Linked DNA regions of Homo sapiens: all the other regions are linked to region 1. Evidence: promoter capture Hi-C in 16 types of primary human blood cells and fetal thymus (Javierre and others, 2016). All regions are on one chromosome and are shown on one strand. The core of a region is centred on a gene start or on the middle of the fragment in contact, and the rest is flanking DNA. Distances in the headings are between cores, read along the strand shown. Region 1 holds the start of CRP (C-reactive protein). Region 2 has its middle 5.0 kb from the start of ACKR1. Region 3 has its middle 44 kb from the start of ACKR1. Region 4 overlaps LOC124904433 (a long non-coding RNA gene).

What was found. The method cuts DNA at HindIII sites, captures the fragments that hold promoters and counts their contacts. A CHiCAGO score of 5 or more calls a contact.
Region 2: a contact is called between a fragment that was not itself captured here and the fragment with the promoter of CRP in region 1, in 1 of 17 cell types (M2 macrophages). The highest score is 5.4, in M2 macrophages.
Region 3: a fragment that was not itself captured here is called in contact with the fragment with the promoter of CRP in region 1 in 5 of 17 cell types (M0 macrophages, total CD8 T cells, endothelial precursors and 2 more); the score reaches 8.6 in M0 macrophages.
Region 4: a contact is called between a fragment that was not itself captured here and the fragment with the promoter of CRP in region 1, in 1 of 17 cell types (M1 macrophages). The highest score is 6.3, in M1 macrophages.

What each region holds. Positions count from the first base shown.
Region 1 is chr1:159,712,602-159,716,523 of GRCh38, reverse strand. CRP (C-reactive protein) reads left to right here and starts at 1,935. Exons shown (of 2, transcript NM_000567.3): 1 at 1,935-2,099; 2 at 2,386-3,922. The coding sequence starts at 2,039. The coding sequence ends at 2,999. The HindIII fragment of the contact is 4,063 bases long and covers 1,035-3,922 here.
Region 2 is chr1:159,207,906-159,211,827 of GRCh38, reverse strand. No RefSeq gene overlaps it. Among named protein-coding and RNA genes, the nearest start is that of ACKR1, 5.0 kb to the right of the region's middle. The HindIII fragment of the contact is 1,947 bases long and covers 1,168-3,114 here.
Region 3 is chr1:159,246,611-159,250,532 of GRCh38, reverse strand. No RefSeq gene overlaps it. Among named protein-coding and RNA genes, the nearest start is that of ACKR1, 44 kb to the right of the region's middle. The HindIII fragment of the contact is 161 bases long and covers 2,203-2,363 here.
Region 4 is chr1:159,341,670-159,345,591 of GRCh38, reverse strand. LOC124904433 (a long non-coding RNA gene) reads left to right here. Exons shown (of 2, transcript XR_007066672.1): 2 at 1-94. Among named protein-coding and RNA genes, the nearest start is that of FCER1A, 41 kb to the right of the region's middle. The HindIII fragment of the contact is 1,839 bases long and covers 1,353-3,191 here.

The DNA.
Region 1 (3,922 bases), core at 686-3,185:
TTCCTTCCTCCCTCTCTCCCTCCCATCCTTCCTTTTTTCTCTTTTCTTTCTTCTTTCTCTAAAAGATTAAATATATTATAGTATGGTTTTGTGGAAATGATCAAGTAAAGATGAATAAATTAATAATACAGAAGATAGAGAGGATACCTATAGGAGCAAAATTCCTTGCATAGTCGACAGGGTCTGGGATCCACTGAAGAATTGCAAGGGTTGGCCTTAGATGTAACACAGGGAGAGCTCATCCCTTTTAATAGAGGAAGACAGAAAGGCTGGTACATTGGGTTGTAGGAGGATATATAAGGATATCAGTTAGGTGTTAAGAACAGAAAGACTGAGTTAACAGTGATTTAACAAAAGAGGAGAGTATTTCTCCTTTAAGTAAATTTTCAGGTAGGCAGCCTAGAGCTGATGCAGTGGCTCCATACCCAATTATCCAGGCTCCATCTATCTTGTTGCCATGCCAACCTCAACATGCAGCTTACACTTGCTGGCCTGAAAGTGAACTATTCCATCTCCTGCTATCATGACTGAATACTAGTCAAAGGGAAAAAGGGGGAAGTGGGAGGGGAAAGCACATACCTTTCTTAAAGAGCACAACCTAGAGATGGTCCCTATTCTGTTCATATCTCGTTGGCCTTAATTTAATCACATCATCACTGCAAGCTACAGTGGGGGCTGGGAAATTTGGTGTTTGAGGGGATGACCAAGCGCCCAACTGAAAATGTTATTCTTCTCTTATGAGAAGTAGAGAATGGATGTTAGGGAATGGCTAGAAGACTCTACTACAAAGGATACGGTGGTTCTTTTCTGATTGCTTCTAACTTCTCAATGAAAGGTGAGTTCATCAGCTGAATGAAAGAATAAATGAGATTTTGGGGACTTGAGGAGCAAGGAGAAGGAGTATAATAGTCATTTTGAAGAGTGAGTTAAGTAGGGAACTGTAGTAAGATTGACAGACAGTGTGGAGGGATTACTTGAATCTTGTGAATAGAGGAAAGAGTAGAATCAGATTATCCTGACTCCTGCCTGAAGCTTTACATATTCAGAGAAAAATGTTGGAAGAAACTTTGATATAATGCTATGTCTGTGATCAGGCACACATTTTACTGGACTTTTACTGTCAGGGCCGTCATTTAGTGCCAAGATGTCTAGAGAGTTCTTAATAAGTGTACTCAATTGGCTGAGAAAATGTGTCCATGCAAAAAACCAAACACCGCGTGTTCTCACTCATAGATGGGAATTGAACAATGAGAATACTTGGACACAGGAAGGGGAACATCACACTCTGGGGACTGTTGTGGGGTGGGGGGAGGGGGGAGGGATAGCATTAGAAGATATACCTAATGCTAAATGATGAGTTAATGGGTGCAGCACACCAGCATGGCACATGTATACATATGTAACTAACCTGCACATTGTGCACATGTACCCTAAAACTTAAAGTATAATAATAATAAAAAAATGTGTCCATGGCTCTGGGAGGAGCATGTTTGTTTTCCTCATTTCCCAGTCTGTAAATAAGCAAATTGAAAGGGGTTAGTGATAATGTCCATCTCCAGAAGCTGTCAGATTTCCTTTGTCAAACTCTATGATTTGGGCTGAAGTAGGTGTTGGAGAGGCAGCTACCACGTGCACCCAGATGGCCACTCGTTTAATATGTTACCATTTCCCATTATTTTCGCAGGATAGATAGCCAAAGTGGAGCCCTGAGAGATTTCTTCATTTTTCCTGTCATAAAGAATTGGTAATTCAGTAGTCATAGGAGTTTGTAATAAATAACTCACATTGATTTCTCTGTTCTGAAATAATTTTGCTTCCCCTCTTCCCGAAGCTCTGACACCTGCCCCAACAAGCAATGTTGGAAAATTATTTACATAGTGGCGCAAACTCCCTTACTGCTTTGGATATAAATCCAGGCAGGAGGAGGTAGCTCTAAGGCAAGAGATCTAGGACTTCTAGCCCCTGAACTTTCAGCCGAATACATCTTTTCCAAAGGAGTGAATTCAGGCCCTTGTATCACTGGCAGCAGGACGTGACCATGGAGAAGCTGTTGTGTTTCTTGGTCTTGACCAGCCTCTCTCATGCTTTTGGCCAGACAGGTAAGGGCCACCCCAGGCTATGGGAGAGATTTGATCTGAGGTATGGGGGTGGGGTCTAAGACTGCATGAACAGTCTCAAAAAAAAAAAAAAAAGACTGTATGAACAGAACAGTGGAGCATCCTTCATGGTGTGTGTGTGTGTGTGTGTGTGTGTGTGTGTGTGTGTGGTGTGTAACTGGAGAAGGGGTCAGTCTGTTTCTCAATCTTAAATTCTATACGTAAGTGAGGGGATAGATCTGTGTGATCTGAGAAACCTCTCACATTTGCTTGTTTTTCTGGCTCACAGACATGTCGAGGAAGGCTTTTGTGTTTCCCAAAGAGTCGGATACTTCCTATGTATCCCTCAAAGCACCGTTAACGAAGCCTCTCAAAGCCTTCACTGTGTGCCTCCACTTCTACACGGAACTGTCCTCGACCCGTGGGTACAGTATTTTCTCGTATGCCACCAAGAGACAAGACAATGAGATTCTCATATTTTGGTCTAAGGATATAGGATACAGTTTTACAGTGGGTGGGTCTGAAATATTATTCGAGGTTCCTGAAGTCACAGTAGCTCCAGTACACATTTGTACAAGCTGGGAGTCCGCCTCAGGGATCGTGGAGTTCTGGGTAGATGGGAAGCCCAGGGTGAGGAAGAGTCTGAAGAAGGGATACACTGTGGGGGCAGAAGCAAGCATCATCTTGGGGCAGGAGCAGGATTCCTTCGGTGGGAACTTTGAAGGAAGCCAGTCCCTGGTGGGAGACATTGGAAATGTGAACATGTGGGACTTTGTGCTGTCACCAGATGAGATTAACACCATCTATCTTGGCGGGCCCTTCAGTCCTAATGTCCTGAACTGGCGGGCACTGAAGTATGAAGTGCAAGGCGAAGTGTTCACCAAACCCCAGCTGTGGCCCTGAGGCCCAGCTGTGGGTCCTGAAGGTACCTCCCGGTTTTTTACACCGCATGGGCCCCACGTCTCTGTCTCTGGTACCTCCCGCTTTTTTACACTGCATGGTTCCCACGTCTCTGTCTCTGGGCCTTTGTTCCCCTATATGCATTGCAGGCCTGCTCCACCCTCCTCAGCGCCTGAGAATGGAGGTAAAGTGTCTGGTCTGGGAGCTCGTTAACTATGCTGGGAAACGGTCCAAAAGAATCAGAATTTGAGGTGTTTTGTTTTCATTTTTATTTCAAGTTGGACAGATCTTGGAGATAATTTCTTACCTCACATAGATGAGAAAACTAACACCCAGAAAGGAGAAATGATGTTATAAAAAACTCATAAGGCAAGAGCTGAGAAGGAAGCGCTGATCTTCTATTTAATTCCCCACCCATGACCCCCAGAAAGCAGGAGGGCATTGCCCACATTCACAGGGCTCTTCAGTCTCAGAATCAGGACACTGGCCAGGTGTCTGGTTTGGGTCCAGAGTGCTCATCATCATGTCATAGAACTGCTGGGCCCAGGTCTCCTGAAATGGGAAGCCCAGCAATACCACGCAGTCCCTCCACTTTCTCAAAGCACACTGGAAAGGCCATTAGAATTGCCCCAGCAGAGCAGATCTGCTTTTTTTCCAGAGCAAAATGAAGCACTAGGTATAAATATGTTGTTACTGCCAAGAACTTAAATGACTGGTTTTTGTTTGCTTGCAGTGCTTTCTTAATTTTATGGCTCTTCTGGGAAACTCCTCCCCTTTTCCACACGAACCTTGTGGGGCTGTGAATTCTTTCTTCATCCCCGCATTCCCAATATACCCAGGCCACAAGAGTGGACGTGAACCACAGGGTGTCCTGTCAGAGGAGCCCATCTCCCATCTCCCCAGCTCCCTATCTGGAGGATAGTTGG
Region 2 (3,922 bases), core at 892-3,391, 500 kb after region 1:
TAGTGGATACTCAACAAATTCTTTAAATGAAATTAATTATACACCCCTAAGTGCCTTAAAGGGCGATCCTGTTCCCAAAACTGCAGAGACATCAATTGCCACAGGGGGGCGACAGAGGCCAGAAGGTGAGAGTAGGAACCAGCGTTCACAGGTGGGGAAGGGGTAGGGTTGGAAGGGGAGCTAAGTTGAAACTAAAAGGAAGGAGAGAAGACCGAAGAAAAAAAAAATCAGCATGGTGACTTTTCGGTCCAAGGGGGGTAGTGGGCTCTCCCTGAGAATGATGCAATCTGAGGAGGTGGCTGGACTATGAATTTGATTCCGAGCCAGTGAAGGACTTTGTCTCCCAGAACTCTGGGGGAGTCTCAGTGACTCACTTTTCCTCAAGCAAAGATGAAAAATGACAACCTTTCCCAGTTTTCCCCTGCTGGCCAAAAACCCGGCAGTATCCCAAAGGAAAGGAAGCATTGTTTCTTTAATGCGTGGTTCAGGAACTGTGGTGAAGTCCTCAGCTCCAGTCAGCCATGAATTGACACAAAAAAACAGGTTCACAGGCCGGAAATCTACAGAAGATTCTCCAGCCTCTTCAGCCCCCAGACACTGGAATGACATGGGAGAGGCTCTGGAGGACTTAGGGAGAAGAGGTCAGTTTTCTGCATCAATTATTTGCTTACTTGTTCCTCTTCCCTCTCTGGACTGTGAATGTTCCAGTGTGGCCAATGAATCTTTATTCATGAAATTAACTTGGGTATTTAGTAGATGTTTCCTGAGCTCTGATCATGTGCCAGTCAGCGAAAGGACTCTTGCATGGTTGAAGTTTCTTTTCTAGTGTTGGAGGGAGGAGGTAGACGAGCAGTAAACTGATAAGCAAATAAACGAATAAATAAAATTTTAACATGTGATAAATGCTACAGTGGAAACATCCGAGGTGAACTGGTAGAGAATAATTGGGTGTGGCATGGCCAGGCTACATTCCACTGGATGTCAGGGAAGGTCACTCTTGAGGGAGGTGATATTTGCACAGAGACCCCAAGGACGAGAAGTTGTTGGTCATATAAAGAGCACAGGAAGGAGCTTTTGGGGCAGAAGAGATATCAAGTGCAAAGACTCTTAGAGTGGAAAACAGATTTGCTCCTTCAAAGAACAAAATTCACCCGTGAGCATAAAGCTTCTTGAGCTGTGGGGAGACAAGGCCACCAGCTAATCGTGGAAGTGCTGTCAGAGGGTACAGAAACACTCAGGATTAACTTAAATGCAGTAGCGAAGAACTAGATGCCAAATTTAGGGTATAATATTGGATTTTTGTAAAGAGTAAGTTTATTACTATCACTGGATTTTCTAAGAGGCCTATAACCCTCCTCCTATCCCGTAAACATTAGCAATACCCTATTTAGAGGAAAAAGACTAGGTCCATGCTCTTAGAAAGACTAGAAAGATGAAAGGTACAGTTTGGAGCTACATACAATGTATTTTTGCATGATACGGAGAACTACCCAGGAAAAAAAAATACAGTTATCTTTGAAGAGGGCAAGGGTGAAACTTGACACGTTATCTGGGAAACCAAAGGCAGTAGGCAACTTTTTTTTTTTTTTTTTTTGAGATGGAGTCTCACTCTGTCGCTCAGGCTGGAGTGCAGTGGCGCGATCTCGGCTTACTGCAAGCTCCACCTCCCGGGTTCACAAGCAGTAGGCAACTTTAAATGACCACAGATGTGGTAGGAACATATAGAGAAAGCTGAGGACAAATGGCATTGATGGGGAAGTTGAGACTTTCATGCTAGAAACCAAGTTTGCAAACAATCAGGCAATGATTTTGAGATACTAGAGAGCTATAAGAACTTAATCTTCTCATTTATAAAAATGTATCCAAAAGATTTCCTAAATCTAAGTGCAACATAAAGATGTCTGATACATCCCCTTAAAATGATGTTCCCGCCGGGCGCGGTGGCTCACGCCTGTGATCCCAGCACTTTGGGAGGCTGAGGCAGGTGGATCACCTGAAGTCAGAGTTCGAGACCAGGCTGGCCAAACTGGTGAGACCCCCCCGTCTCTACTAAAAATACAAAAAATTAGCCTGGCGTGGTGGTGCACACCTGTAATCCCAGCTACTCAGGAGGCTGAGGCAGGAGAATCACTTGAACCTGGGAGGCGGAGGTTGCAGTGAGCCAAGATTGCACCACTACACTCCAGCCTGGGCAACAGAGTGAGACTCTGTCTCAAAAAAAAAAAAAAAAAAAGAAGATGTTCTCAAAATCCCCCAACCAATTTTCCAGAGCCAGTCTCTTAGAGAGTTTCTCTTCCCTTCACCAAATAGTTACAGGAAAGAAGAAAGCTAACGTGCATTTTTGCAGAAATGATGCTTAAACACTCCCCATCCCTCCCTGTGTTCCCCACACCCTTCCTGCCCAAATCACCTAGATGTCTAGAGATGATTTGGAAGGACTTGGACTTGTTAATTAACCTAAACAGTCGCATTCGTCAGCAAGGTGCATTATTGTTAATTAAAACTCCGATTCTCCTTGTGCCCAGACGGCGGGCTGCTGTTGTCAGAATAATTAGATAGCATACGATGGTTTTCATGCAAATCTCTGGCAATTAGAGTTGGCGATGAATTGGGTTTGAAATCCCAGTGAAGTTCTCAATCAGAATTCCTCTGAGGGAGGAAGGTGGTGATGGGGTTGGGGGATAGGGAAATAGGAATGGAAAAAGGGTGTGAGGACCAAGTATTTGTTTTCTAAATCCTAAGGGAGGGGCCTCAGCTTGGAATAAATGAACTATGAGCGTCAATGTGATGTTCAAACTTCCCTTGAATAATAGATCTCTCTCCTTTAGAAAGCAAAGCAAACTGACCTTCCTCAGGGTCCTGTGTTTTCCCAAGAGCTTGCTTCCCTGGCTCTCATCTTTCTGAGAGGATTTTTTTCTTTAGCTAGGATGCCCAATATCTCATACACAGCTAAAGTCCCTGCCAACCCTAAGATTAAATTCTTAAGGGCTTTAAGGAGACAGGATTTGTATTCCTGAAGGGTTGCAGAAAAGATGCCAGACTCAGACCAATTTTAGAGTGGTTGATGGCATGCAGTGGGTTAAATGCATGGGGTGGCAGGTCCCCAAGAAAGCTTTAAAGAAATGACTGAGGTCCGGGTTAGACTTAAGGAGGAGCTCTCCAAGTGCTGCCTAGGTAATGGCAGGGAAAGGGCAGCCCAAAAGGCCTGGAGCAATCCCGGTGGGGGTGGGGATGAGGAGGATGTAGCAGGGGGCGGGGGTAGGGCACTGTCTCCAGCCCACCCTAACCTCTTAGCAGCTTCGGGCTTCTGCAGCTGCCTTTCCCTTGTGAAAGCCATGAGAGCTGCCAAGCTATTACCCAGGAGTCTGGGGTTCTCTCTAACTGGACTGACTGACCAGGGATTTCTATCCAGAGGCACAGGGTTGGGGGCAGATAAGACAAGCCTACTGGTCTTAAATTAAGCCTCCCTTGCATCAGGTTGACACTGGAAGATTCAGGGAGTCAAAAACGCCCTCTCCTCCCCCTCAACTAGGTCAGCTTCCAAATCAGTACCTTGTAAGGGAGGACAGCAACATCTGGTAGAATTGCAAGAGTGGTCAAGGACGGGAGGGGGATATTGAGAGAAGCCTGGAAAAAAAAAAGCGGGGGAAAAAATACTAGAACACATTCATGAACTGTGGTTGGAAACCAGAGCATAATTTAGGTTTGTAAATTATTTCCTTTCTCTTCATTTTCTCTCCCTTCCTTTCTGTTTCAGAATGTCTCCCGCGTCTCAATCGGTCCCTAAATCCCGCCTTTCAATTGAGGACGAACCAATCAGGAGCTAACCTGGTGGTTGCTAAGAGACAGGAGGTGGGAGATTTAGAGGCCTTGTCGTGGCACCCACCCAGGAAAATTCCCTAAGCCTTTTGCACCCTCCTGC
Region 3 (3,922 bases), core at 1,034-3,533, 470 kb after region 1:
TTTTTCTAAGATTTTTTTCTTTGTCTTTGGTTTTCTGCAATCTGAATGATATGCACACCTCTCGTATATTTTTTGGTATTTCTTCAGCTTGTAGTTATCTGAGCTTACTGAATCTGTAGTTTGAGGTTTGTCGTTAACTTTGAAAAATTCTCTCTATTATTACTTCAAATATTTCTGTCTCTTTCTTCTCCTTCAAATATCCCAATTACACATATGTTATACCTTTTGAAATCGTTCCACAGTTCTTGAATGTTCTGTTTTGTTTTTTGTTTTCTTCATTTTTTTTCTCTTTGTACTTCAGTATGAGAAGTTGGTCTATCTTTAGGTTCACTGATTCTTTTCTTACTCATGTCCAGTCTACTGATGAGACCATCAAAGACATTTTTTTAATCTCTGTTACAATGTTTTTGATTTCTAGGATCGCCTATTATTGTTCTTAGAGTTTTAATCTCTGCTTTTATATTACCCATCTGTTTGGCAAGTTGTCTACTTTTGTCATTATAACTCTTAACATATTAATTATGTTAGGTAATTATCAGATAATTATGTTATCTGATAATTCCAAAATCTATGTTATATCTGACTTTCTTTCTGATTCTTGCTTTGTCTCTTCAAACTGCATTTTTCCTTGTCTTCTGGCACATTTTGCAATATTTGTTGAAAGCTGCACATGATATATTGGGCAATAGAAACTGAAGTAAACATGAATTTAATGTGAAGTTTTATGTTAATCTGGCTAAGATTTGGGCTATATTTAATGTTTGCTATATCGATAGAGGCCAGAGACTAAATTCCTCTAGTATCCTTGTTTATTCTACTCTGTTAACTTTGAGATTCCCTAAGTACTCCTCTTCAGAGAGAGTTTAAATCTTGCAGCTCTTTTAACTGTGACCCACCCTTATACCAGAGTCCTTTTGATCTGACAGTAAGGTGTGGGAGTGAGGAGCATTCTGTAATCTTATTATTAAGTCTCACTCTTTTAGTGGGCCTGTGTTCCTGGAATGTGACCTTCACAAGGGTGTCTTGTCCTCTCTCCTCACTCAGGTGAAATAGGAATGCTAGAGAGGGCTAGAGTGAGAGAAATTATTTTCCCCTAGGTGGGATAAGGCTCTGATAAATCTTTACCCCTGGAGAGTAAGTCTTTGCTATGAAGAACAGTCAGGTTGTATTCTACAAGTTATTCTTTCCCTCCTTCTACCTGAGCCATGAATTTTTTCTGACCGCTCTTCACCATAAGAACACTGTGTGGTGTCTGGAGATAAAACTCACAAAAGTATGTGGGTGCCCCTAAGATTGCAGCACCTAGGAGTTTCTCATTCTCAGGATAATTCTCACATTAGCCTTCTGAAATTTGTCAAAATTGTTGTTTAAGTGTTCCAGTTTATGGCTCCAGGGCTTCCCCAGCAGTAAGCTGTCTTCATGTGGTTCTCTGGATTCACCTGTTTTTCCAGATTTAGGGGTGGCAATTTGCCCTGCAATCTCAGTTTTCTGAGGTATTCATGAAAAGCTGCTAATTTTGTTTATTTATCTTCTTTGTTGTTGCTGTTGTTGATAGAATGGAACTGATGACTTCTAAGCTTTTGCATGTTGGAACTGAAAGCCAGCTAATCTACTTTTGAAGACCAGATTTTTTACTACCTTTTTAAAGGGTGCTGTATTAGGCTTTTCTTGCATTGCTATAAAGAAATACCTGAGACTGGGTAATTTATAAAGAAAAGAGGTTTAATTGGTTCTATAGGCTTTACAGGAAGCATGGTGCTAGCATCTGCTCAGCTTCTGGGGAGGCCTCAGGAAGCACAATTATGGCAGAAGGTAAAGTGGGAACAGGCACTCCACATGGCACAAGCAGGAGGAAAAGAGAGAGAGTCAGCTGGGGGAGGAGATGTCACACACTTTTAAATGATCAGATCTCATGGGAACTCAGAGCAAGAGCTCGCTTATCACCAAGGGGATAGCCTAAGCCATTCATGAGGGATCCACCCCCACAATCCAAACACCTCCCTCCAGGCCCTACCTCCAACACTGGGGATCATGATTCAACATGAGATTTGGCAGGTACATACATTCAGACTTTGTGAGGCACTCTGCAATTTGGCACAGGCTAGCTTTTTCTTAGAATAAAATCCAAGGAAAAATATCAAATCAATACAAATAATACAATAATTTCAGAGTTTCTGTTAACATCACTTCTTCTTTGAAGCTTTATTTGAAGTCTTCAGCTCACACTGAGCTCACTTCAGTCTGGGTCTAAATTCTATTTTTTGTTGTTTTTTTTTTCACTCAACTTTCACTTAACCAAATACTATCTAGTAATAGTTGACTAATGTTTTTGGATAGATGGGCTGTCTCTTTAAATATAAGCTTTTCATGGGAGGCAAAATATTTTATACAACCATCGTATCCCTAGTTGTGCTATCATATCTGTATACTAGACAAATGGGGAATATTAAATTAAATACTTAGGGTGGTCCAAGTTTTGCAATTTTTTTTTTTTTTGGACGATAGTGAGGCTTCATCAGGTTTTCAGGACAGAGGTATGTCTGGATCACCTCAATTTATAGATTATTATTTTAAGAATAGGTGAGAAGGAAGAAGAGGATAAAGCAGCCAAACATTTGGACCCCACGAGTGGCTGACACATTATTCATTACTACTTCAAAATACAACAACAAACGTACTCATTTCAAAGTAGGTGCGATAAACTAATAGCAGTTCTATAAGTCTTCCATGTGGGCAACTCAACTCTTCCCTCTTTGCTTCTCCCCTCACTACATACTTTCTGCTTAATTTTTTCCCTTTGTCTCACTCTGTATATATTTTATTCATTGATTAATTAATAAAGATTTAGCTGGTGACATCAGCAAGATAGCAGAATAAGAGGTCACAGGCTTCACTACCCCCCATAGAAAGTTCAACTAACAATTATCCACAGACAAGGATGCCTTTGTGAAAACTCCAGTACTTGAGAATAAGCTTGAGAAAACAGTGTGGACAACAGAACTAAATAAAGACCACAAAAGGGGTTAAGTAAAATGGCCTCACTGATTGCATCACCCCATCACCCCTGCCCATTCCATGAGTCAGCAAAGTACCACACAGAGAGGATTCCCCAAGGCTCAGTTTCAACAGTGGGAAAAGAGAACTGGAGTTGGACATCCAGCTTCCCTAGAATTCTGAGACGCTTCCCAGGAAGCCCGCTGTGGTCTCACCTCACAAGGAGTACAGCGGGTAACAGCATGAACACTGAACAAACCTTGCTGATAGCTCTGTGTACCTTCCAGTGGTGGTACCTGATCAGAGATACAAGCCAACAGCATCACCTACCCACAAAGCTGAGCTGGTCACTCCCAGAAGTGATGGAAAGTCCTACCTAGCTTGAATCCCTAGATGGCGAGCCTCCAGGCTTAGTCTCAGACCCTACCACAAGGCCCTCAACCCAGGGAGAGAGATGCTTGTCCCAGCACAATTTGGAAAAGAGTGGGATCCAGTTTATACAGCATTTAGCACAGCCTCAAAGCTTGCCCAAGACCCTGTCCAGGGATGGAGACAACCAAACAGAACACTTCAGCAAAGTGCAGTGGCTAGTTCTGCCACACTCAAGCATGCTCCATTTGAGCAGCTACTCTGCCTAACCTCAGAGCCAAGCCTGAAACCCCATCCAGCTGCAGATCTCAAACAACAGTACCACTTGGCCAGAGAATACACCTTGTGGCCCAGGCTGATCTGAGATCATTGCAATGTACATCCAGCAGATCTGTCTGATTGCATGTCTCAGCCAGTGGTCTCTCCTGACAGATTAGCCCAACCAGCAGCCACACCCAAAATCCAAGCAGCTACCTAGAGAACTCAAAAACAAGCTCTGTCTGCACAAGATTATTACCAGCTGGTCCATTCAAAATCACAGGTTAGACTAAATAAGGAA
Region 4 (3,922 bases), core at 1,023-3,522, 370 kb after region 1:
ATTGAGTGAATTACTACAGAGGAGGGGTGGGTAAACCAAAACCTACAGAGCAGTCAAATGTTTTTATAAATAAAGTTTTATTGGAGCACAATCACATCAATTTGTTTATGTATTGTGTATGGCTGCTTTCGTACTATAATAGAGTTGAGTAGGTGCAACAGAGACCGCATGGCCTGCGAAGACTAAAATAATTACTAACTAGTCCTTTACAGAAAAAGTTTGCTGACTCATATTAAAGATAATTAAAAGGACTAATAACATTTTTTCAAATCAACATGAATGAATCTCAGAGTTATTATGATTATATTGAATAATGGAAGCACATCATTTATATATTATATAGAGAGATTATGATTGAGTGATTATATATAAATTCAATATATTATATATGGTGTGTGTGTGTGCATGCATCGTGTGTGTATCCCATTTATTTAACATTCAAAGGAAGGCAGGATTAGATAATTTATTATTTAGGGATACCCTATTTTTTAAAAATATGGAAATGCTGTAACCTAAAGTTCATGACAGGGACTAGTTGGCATATATTTAAAGTTTCTGAAAGGAGCATTTATGAGGCTTCTAGATTCATGATGATATTCTAATTCTCAGCCTGGGTAGAGTGGACCTAAGTGTTTGTTTTGTTATTCCTCTTAAAATGTATGTTTTTGCATACATTTTTAAATGCATTCCATATTTTACAATAAAACTTATAATGTTACACATCTAGAAAACTCTTCACGATATTGTTAAATGGAAGAAATATTATAAAATGGTAAAGGTCATATGATCCCAATATTGTAAACAAAAGAAAGATATATATCCATGTATAAGTAAATATGTGAACATAGAAAAAACACTCAGAGAATTCATAAATGAATATATGTAACATTTGTAAACAAAAAGTAATGCAACATTATTTTAAAAATATGTATTATGCAGCTTTAAACATAATGCATATGATAATTTTATAATTCAGTGGAAAATAGTAAGTGAAGCAGGATATGATATAGTATGTACAAAATAATCTCAATTATATGAATATCTGCATAGAGAAAGGCTGAATGTAAATGATCTAAATGTTAGTAGAATATGGTTCTGCATGGTGTAATTATGGGTAAGATCCCACTGTCTCCTAATTTTTCCCTAGTGTCCATGATAAGTATGTATTACTTATGCAGTGGGGTTGAGGGTATGTTCAAATTTTTAAGCCTTTCTTGAGGCCATTCTCTCAACCATCTTTCCATCTAGATATCCCTCCCTCCTTGGTTCTCTTTGCATTTCATTCCTTCTATAATAGCACTTGTCACATTCAATTGAAATTATTATCTGACATTTCAACTACATTTTAAGCTTCCTTATTATAGAGATCATTCTCAATTCCATATCGCTAAAGCTATCCTAATTTTTGCCACATTTTAAGTTTTTGATAAGTATGTGTTAAATGAACTAATGAATAAGGGAATGCTCTTGAGATACTTCTAGTCTGAAGAAAGAGACCCTCACTTCTGCCAGATATACACAGAAACACTTCTTTGGGCACACAGAAACCAAGAAATGTATTTAAGTGAAAATCTAGACTATAGAACTATAGGGTAGTGAGAGGTAGAGAATATGGACTCTTCCTTTAGGGAAATTGCAGGCATGTGGAGCATATGAAGCACCCAAGCAAAAGAAAGACAGAAAAACTGGCATACAGATAGATAGGAAAGGATAAAATCCACAAAGCTCTTTAAGTTGCAGAAGCTGAGAAGCTGCTAGAGCTAAAAGACATGAAAGGGCAATATAGGAAAAGATGGAGAGATAAACTAAATGCTGACAAACGATTATCATTAAGAAGGGACATGAATAATTATTCTGAGTTAGTTTTCCAATTCTTAAATTAAGTTTTTGTGAATAGCTCTTTTCTCTAAAAAGATGGTAAAAACGTATATGAATGTTTTTTGCATTTTACAGTTTTCTTTATTCTTCAAAGTCATAATAAATCTATCAGAAATAACTATGTGGTAGAAAAGTGAGAAAACTGAATTCCAAAAAGGAAAAAGGAATATCACACATTTAGTTCATGGCAGAGCTAACTTGGAAACTCAGCTCTCTTGACCCTGAACACTGAGTCCTTTGCTATTAAAAAAATTTCATTACTGGAAGAAAAAAATATTTTTATCTCAGCTGAGATACTGATACATGAAACACTGATATACAGAAGTGAATGAACCTTCTTTAGGAAGACATTTTTTAAAAAGGGAATCATTGTATCTTATTCTGAGTTGCTTTTGATGTCTCTGTGAAGAGGCAGGAACATGGACTGTGTAATTGTTACCTAATTTCCTCATAGTTCCTGACGTAGCTACTATCATCTGATAGGAGGGTGAGGCTCAGAGGAAAATGGTGTTCCTTTTAATTGTTCTCTGCTATGGCAAGTCTAGTATCTATCTGTCTAGAATCCTTAGCCTCAGTCTAATTCACATCCACCTATCTCTCTCTCTTTTTCTCTCTCTCTCTCTTTCTCTCTCTCTCTCACACCCCTCCGCCCGCCCCCCCCCCACACACACACACATTATGCTGAGTACATTTTTCTGAAAGTAGTGATCCTGATGCCCCCATGCATTGTTGCTGAAAAGGGGCAGGAACAGTAATCTGACCAGGACTGTGCATGATAGATAAGGGGTGTCAACGGAGCATATAGACTCTCAAAGCTGATGGAAAAATGAAGGTAGCCCTTATACTCTAAATGGCTGAGGAGTTAGAAAATAAAATGCAGAAACAAACATTTGGTTAACATACACCAGCCTAAAGGCTAGTGATTACTCTGCAAGGAAATAAAATACTCCCATTTGGTAGGTGGAGAATTTGAGGCTCAGTGGGATAAGCTACTTCAGTGGGATAAGCTACTTAAGTCCGACTCACAGATCTAGTAATTGGCAGTTGCAGGTGTGAAACAAAGATATTTCTAACTCCAAATCCCATGCATTTCCAACAGATCAATGCCCTACTGAATGAATTTTCAGGCAAGGTGTTCAGGTAAGAGAAGAAGGAGACAATAGCTGTATGAAAACTGCATCTCAGCCTTATTGACTCAAAAGATGCCAGGGACATCAGGAACAGATGACAATTCTGGGAGTTATGAAAGTTGTCTTATTCACTCTTCCCTCCAAGATTTTCTGCAGCTGATTTTATTATTTAAACATAAAGCTTGTAAGAATACTATATTTCACTTTATAAGTCATCAGCTCTCAATCAGCCATCATGCAAGATACAGGGAAATTATGAAATTCTAATATCACAAAAATAATCAGAAAACTGAAGAGAAAAAGGAAGTATATCAGAAAATTTAAAATCAAGTTTCCTCTCCTTTTTTTCCTATCAATAACCACTTACTTTTTGCAAACTTGGCAGAGGAAATGAGAGAAATTCTCCTTTTAGCTGGTGTATTTGAACATGAAAAGAAAATAAATAAATAAAATAAACAACAACAACAAAAAAACCCTGAGATTAGAACCTCTCCAAAAGGTCTAGTAGGAGAAATTGAAAGCTTCAAGCCTGGATGATCAGCACTTCCTGAGTGTCTGAAGGAAGATTCGAGTATGGTGACTAATTCAAGGTCCAGAGCATTGACTCCTCTGGCTTGGGAAGTCTTCCTGCAGAGTTGAAATCTCTTGCAACCCCAAATCCAGGAACTCTGTTTACTCCTGAAAGAGAAGCAACTTCATCTGCTCTAGAACTCTGGGGACTTCCCCTTGAGAATCATTCCAGGGCACGGAGGGAAGCAAAGTGTATGACTCTATCCCAGGGATCTGATTAGGAATTTGGGCAATTAGTAAAACAAAACTCATTGCCTTTGGTTATTGACTCACCAAAGCAGCTTGCATCTTAGAATGTAAAGTCTATTTTGTTAACAAACCAATGAACCTAGAAGAAACCTGCA